Linked DNA regions of Homo sapiens: region 2 is linked to region 1. The links are contacts of gene promoters, found by promoter capture Hi-C in human tissues and cell types (Jung and others, 2019). All regions are on one chromosome and are shown on one strand. Each heading gives the region's core, a stretch centred on a gene start or on the middle of the fragment in contact. The rest is flanking DNA. Distances are from core to core; before and after follow the strand shown.

The links. The method cuts DNA at HindIII sites, captures the fragments that hold promoters and counts their contacts. A contact is called where the count stands out against the background at its distance.
Region 2: a fragment that was not itself captured here is called in contact with the fragment with the promoter of ECT2L in region 1 in 1 of the 25 tissues and cell types used here (lymphoblastoid cells).

Annotation. Positions count from the first base shown.
Region 1 is chr6:138,794,074-138,797,426 of GRCh38, forward strand. It overlaps ECT2L (epithelial cell transforming 2 like), which reads left to right and starts at 2,014. Exons shown (of 22, transcript NM_001077706.3): 1 at 2,014-2,119. The HindIII fragment of the contact is 5,811 bases long and covers 1,041-3,353 here.
Region 2 is chr6:139,337,843-139,341,235 of GRCh38, forward strand. It overlaps the pseudogene LOC100129844. Among named protein-coding and RNA genes, the nearest start is that of CITED2, 35 kb to the right of the region's middle. The HindIII fragment of the contact is 5,360 bases long and covers 1-3,393 here.

The sequences.
Region 1 (3,353 bases), core at 764-3,263:
ATAATTTATGTCATAAAATGTACCCCTTTAAAGTGTACAATTCAGTGATTGTTAGTAGATTCATAGAGTTATATACCCATCACCGTGATCTAATTCTAGAACATTTTCATCACACTAAAAAGAATCCCATTAACAGTCACTCCTTGTCCCCTAATCCCCTCAGCCTTTGGCAGCCACTAACCTCCTTTCCAGCTCTCTGGATTTTCTATTCTAGACATTTTATATAAATGGAATCATACAATACGTGGCCTTTTGTGACTGGTTTCGTTTACTTAGCATGATGTTTTCAAGGATTGAAGCTTCATCCATGTTATTGCATGTACTTCATTTCTTGTTTTGGCTGATCATATGCCATGGTATGGATAGAACACATTTTGCTTATTTATAACTCAGTTACCTTTGTGTTGCAGAAGATGCTCATGCTTCTGTCTCCTTGTTTCCAGGCCACAGAAATAAGCACCTAATTGGGGGAGGGGAGGAGAGGGACTTACTGAATATTTTTCAAATCTTGATTTTAATAATTTTTGGCTTTCTGAATTCAAAGTATTTTGATCAGTAAATTGGTCTTTTTAATACCCCTTTTAAAAATTACAGCATCATGGAGGAAACTTCATTTGGGTTGTGAGAATAGGGATTTAAGGGGGAAAAAGTCGTACTCTAGGGTCTGACAGGGCGAAAGGACACTTTGTCATGTGACATGTTTTTCTTGGATTGGTCCTGAGATAGAGTAAAGCAAAAAGCTGGTTCCTGCGGGTTGTGACAGAGCAGTGGATTGACCTTGTTTATTCACTTGGTTCATTCGCCCTTTGTGTCACAGGGCCCTAAATGGGTCCCAGGTAGCGAAATATTAGCTTATCTAATTTGTATCCTTTCACACTCCTTAAACACATGTTCAAGGAAACAGGAAAAAATGCAGTGCCTGGATTAGAATAAAATTTAAGGCCTGGTTTGGTGACAGGCACCAGTACTTTTAGCTACTCTGGAGGCTGAGGCGGGAGGATTGCTTGAGCCCAGGAGTTCTAGGCTATAGTGTACAATGATGATTTTACTGGCATACAGATGAAAAAGAAAAAGATATTTGAAATAAAAATAAAAATATAGTGCACAATGACCAGGCCTGTGAATAGCCACTGCACTCCAGCCTAGGCAGCATAGCAAGATCACATTTCTCATATGAAACTTTACTAGAATGAAACTTATGGTTTATTACATAGATGTTGCTTATTCGTTGTAGGAAAAATTGAATTACAGATGATTTTTAAAACTACCAGAGCAAACCATTTAACCTATTTGTGTACATACTCCCAGATTTCTTACACACGTTGCAAAAAAAATAGATCGTACCATTCTGCTGGTTTTCTAAGCTGCTTTTTGTAAGTAATGTACTGTGAGCATCTTTTCATGGCCATAACTATTACATACAAAAGAAAAAAACAGGCTTCACAATAAATAGTTAAAAGACATTTTGACCTGAAACTAATGAAGAAGGGTTTTTTGGTTTTGTTTTTGTACCTCCTGTATAATGCTGAAATTGGTAATTCTGCAGTAAATATTAACATTTTCTGAGGATCTGCTGAAGATGAATGTGACAAAAAATAAGAAACTCCACTTTCCTCATCACACAGCCTTAATTAACATCGCTGGCTTTGTTTGAGATCAAGCAAACGTTGGCTTCAGTGTCCAAGTCTCTTCTTGGGGTCCCACGGCCTTGGGTCTGGCACCTCTGCTGGGCACCTCGCAGGGCTTCCGAGACGTGCCGCGACCCACGGGACCCCACGGAAGCTTTCTCCCACCGCAAGCTCCCTGGAGGCAGGGAAAGGAGCCGGGACCCGAGCCTAGCTGGCCTCAAGAGAAGGGCGGTGGCTCGCACGGCGCGGGCGGCTTTGCTCACTGCAGCTGGGGAGATGCAGGTTGGCCGTCCGGGCGCGGCGGCGGGAGGGGCTGCGGGCCTGTGGGGCGGGGTGGTGGCTCCGTGTTGTTGGATCCCTATGGAGATGACCCTGTCCCTGCCCCACCCCTCTCCGGAGCTGCGGCCCGAGTTGGCGCACTCGATTTTCACTGCGCGGTTCCAAGAGGAGACAGCCGCCACTGTACCGGGCCTCATAGCCACTTCCTAGAGGTAAAGCCCGTGGCTTCTGAGCCGCTAGTCTTTTTCTTGGGGCCGCCCGGGGCACATCGCCTGGGCCGGCTTAGTTTCCCAGTGCAGTCGCCCAGGAAGACCCTAAGCAGCGCTGAGGGGCGCAGGGCCCTCCCTCCGCGACCCTGGAGTCCCTTAGCAGCTCTGGAATTAACCAAGATTCTGAAGAGGCTCTGGGGAGAAACAAAATCCACGCGTAGGGTAGGGTTTGCATCGGGCCATGCCAAGTAAACTCTTACCTCCTCCAGAGAACTGATTTGGGATCGAAGTAAAGTTCTTGAACACTTTGGAAAACGCTGATTTTCATAGGTTCACACCAACTGCCTTCTTCCTTCTGACAGTTCTCTCCCTCTTTCCTCCTATGGGGTCCAAAAATGTAGGGAGTAGGGTGGGGGCTGGGTTGGGGGAATGAGGGAGGAATACAAAAAATCTACTGTGAATATAGGTCTTGGTTATAAGGATAGCTCTAAGAGTTAATATGCTAAGATTTGATGAGCAGGACAAATAAAACAGTGGTACTTTAAAATATCGATTTAAAAATACCGATGCTGTGCTTATTAATAAACTTTGCATATGTATCAGAACACAATATCCTGACATCATTGGTGTTAAAGTTCACTGCAACCCATGCAATTGTATCCAAGCCTGTTAAAGTCTGTTCTGCAGGAACTGACATTTGTGCTCCACAGAAACCTCAAAAATCATGCTCTACAAACACTTATTTCAGTGGGAGGAAGAAGGGTTAAGGACTTGGAAGTTTTATAGCAACAGTTGCATCTTGTTTGTTACAGCTTTAGTTTTATAGCTTTAAACTTATAAATCAGTGAGCACATCCACCATTTGAAAATACCAGCACAAGTATGGTATTTTCTATCACCGCCTGTAAGATCAATAGCCCAGGTTTCCTCAAAACACGCCATTATTTTCATTATCCATTGCTTAGTGTGTACTTAATAAAAATTATATACTGGCATGTAGTTTTACATGCCCTAAATGTGGGACATTTAACTCAACTGGAATTGTCTTTCATTTCTGTTTTTTCACCAATCACACTTACTTTTCTTCTACTCCCGTTCTTTTGTGCGATCTTTAGAACCAGATACCTTTTTGGAGGCATATTTAAGGAAGTAAATTTTTGATAAATAAAGGAATCATTGCACAATTTGCATGTGTGAATTGCAGAAGTACGCGCATGTAGGTACATACCTCTGCCGAG
Region 2 (3,393 bases), core at 757-3,256, 540 kb after region 1:
AACATAAACATTGAAGCCTTCTTTCCCTAGGTTTCTGCTGTTATAAATAAAGCTGCTATAAATATTCATCTACAAGTTTGTGTGTATAGATACATACTTTGTTTTCCTTTAAGTAAATATCTAGGAGTGAAATTGCTGCGTCATATGGCAGGGATATAATTTCCTTTTTAAGAAACTGTCAGTTGCCCCATCGTGCAATGTGGTGCGGCAACCAAGCCAGGGCTGCTCCATGAAGAGGAAGCAAAGACGGCTTGCCAGGACAGTGATGGAGAAGAACAAAAAGGCAGGATCGCCTCAATAAAAGGAGGGTGGCTTTGCCAGTTTGTAATTTAAAATACTGAAGCACAGTCTTTGAAGCAACAAGGAAATGCACACTATGCCAAGGAAGATTACAACGAAGCTTATAACTATTAAACAAAAGCCACAGATATGTGCCCTAAAAATGCTAGCTATCATAGTAATAGAGCAGCTACATTGATGATACTTGGAAGGTTCTGCGAAGCCCATGGAGATACTTTCACAGTGAAATTGGATGATGGTTTCTTCTGGGGACATCTACGAGAGGGCAAGTGCCACCTCTCTCCAGGGAATGCCATGGCAGCACATTGCAGTTTTCAGAGAGCCCTAGAACTGGATCATAACAATGCTCACTCACAACAGGAGTTCACAAATGCTAATGCAGTCAAGGAATAGGAGAAAGTCATAGAAACAAGTTTTGAGAAGTGGGCTTTTCAGAAGGTTGTTTTCTGCATGGACTATGCCCTAGAATTTGCCCCTGTCTGCCATCACTTCAATATCCCTCAAAGCAGAATGTTTAGCAATGCTGGGTCGTTATCCAGAAGCACAGTCTGTGGCCAGTGACATTTTATGAACGGATTCCACCAATGTGGATGCTCTGTATGTACGCGGACCTTGCCTTTATTATGAAGATTGTACTGAGTAGGCAGTTGTTCAGTTTTTTGTACAGGCTCTCAGAGTGGTTCCTGACCATGAGAAGGCCTGCCTTGCGTGCAGAAATGCCAGAGCACTTAACGCAAAGAAAGAAGACTGGAATAAAGCGTTTAGGGAAGGAAATTACAAACTAGCTGATGAACTGTACGCAGAACCCCCGGGGTAGACCCCGACAACATAAAAGCAATTGCTAAACTCTACTGTAACCGGGATATGGTTAATTCCGAGCTTGGGAAACTAGATGATGCAATAGACAGCTGCACAAATGCAGTGAAGCTCATGACACTTACATAAAAGCCTACTTGAGAAGAGCTCAGTGTTTCTTGGACACAGAACAGTATGAAGAAACAGTGCGAGGCTATGAAAAAAGTATATCAGATGGAGAAAACAAAAGAATACAAACAGCTCCTAAAAAATGCACAGCTGGAACTGAAGAAGAGTAAGAGGGATAATTACTACAAGGTTCTGGAAGTGACAAGAATGCCTCTGAGGACAAGATCAAGAAAGCTTATTGGAAACAGGCCTTGAAGTACCATCCACATCGTCATGATGGAGCCAGCGCTGGGGTTCAAAAGGAGGAGGAGAAGATCAAGGAAGTGGCGAGGTCTTTATCATCCTCTTTGATTCCAAGAAAACGATTCATTATCACAGTGGGCAGGACCTGGATAAGGAAGACATAAATTTGGGTGATTTTGATGCAAACAATATCTTCAAGGTATTCTTCCGCGGTCCTACGGGCTTCAGCTGTGAAGCATCTGGTCCAAGGATTTTCTTTCTTCGATTGGGCTCATGAAAGGCAACCATCCAGAATCCAGAAAATGCAGAGTCGCTCAGTTTAAATGTAATCAGCAGATCATTTCTATTAAGAGAGGAATATTTAAATCTCAAACCATAATTTGTCTGCCTCTCCTGTAGATCTATCAGTTTTTTGCTCAATGTATTTTATTATTAGGTGCATAAATGTTTAGATTTGTTTATGACCTTTTATCATTATGAAATAAACTTGAAAAATCCCATGTAATATTGTTGGCTGTGAAATCTATCATGTCTGGTAGTAATATAGTCACTACAACTTTCTTATAGTTAAGGTTAGCTAGATTATCTTTTTCTGTCTTTTAACATCTAACGTGTGTGTGTGTGTGTGTGTGTGTGTGTGTGTGTGTGTGTAAATGAATAACACCAAAAACAGTTACTTTGAGAAAATCAGTGAAATTGGTCAATCTCTGGCTAGACTGATCAAGAAGAAAGAAAATATATATGGAGAGAGAGTACATTTCTTATATGCAGCATATAGTTTGGTCTTCTGTTTTTTTCTTTTCTTTTCTTTTCTTTTTTTTTTTGAGACGAAGTTTCACTCTTGTTGTCCAGGCTGGAGTGCAATGGCGCGATCTCAGCTCACCACAACCTCCACCTCCTGGGTTCAAGTAATTCTCCTGCCTCAGCCTCCCAAGTAGCTGGGATTACAGGCATGTGCCACCATGCCCAGCTAATTTTGTATTTTCAGTAGAGACGGGGTTTGGTCAGGCCGGCCTCGAACTCCTGACCTCAGGTGATCCGCCAGCCTGGACCTCCCAAAGTGCTGGGATTACAGGCGTGAGCTGCCGCACCCGGCCCTGTGTTTCTTTTCTGTTTGACAATCTCTGACTTTTAATTGAGATGTTTTGACAAAGTTATATTTAATGTGATAATTGATAGATTCAAGTCTGTCATCTTGCCATTTGTTTTCTGTTTGACCCATCTCTTCTTTTTCTTCCCTTTTCCTCATGTCTTTGGTTGAAGAACTTCCTTTGATATTTCTTTTTTTTTTTTTTTTTTTTTTTTTTTTTTTTTTTTGTGGTGAGATGGAGTCTCACTCTGTTGCCAGGCTGGAGTGCAGTGGCGTGATCTCAGCTAACTGCAATCTCCGACTCCCGTGTTCAAGCGATTCTCCTGCCTAAGCCTCCTGAGTAGCTGGGATTACAGGTGCGCACCACCAAGCCCAGCTAATTTTTGTGTTTTTAGTAGAGATGGGGTTTCACTATGTTGGCCAGGATAGTCTTGATTGCCTGACCTTGTGATCCACCCACCTTGGCCTCCCAAAGCACTGGGATTACGGGCATGAGCCACTACGCCCAGCCTGACATTTCTTATAGAGCAAGTCTGTTGCTGATAAATATTTTCAGCTTTTGTATATGTGAAAGAGTCTTTATTTCACCTTAGTTCTTGAAACATATTTTGCTTGGTATAAAATTCTAGTTTGACAGTTTAATAATTTTTTTGTCAGTACATTAAAGATGTTGTGTGTCACTGTCTTCTCACTTGCATTTTTTCTTATACGAGATCTGCTATAGTTCTTATCTTTGTTTCCCTAAATATATTGTGATGTTTTTCTCTGCTTTACAATGTTCTATCACTTGTTTAGGAAAATTTAATTATGATGTGCCTTAGTGTCGTTTTCTTCAC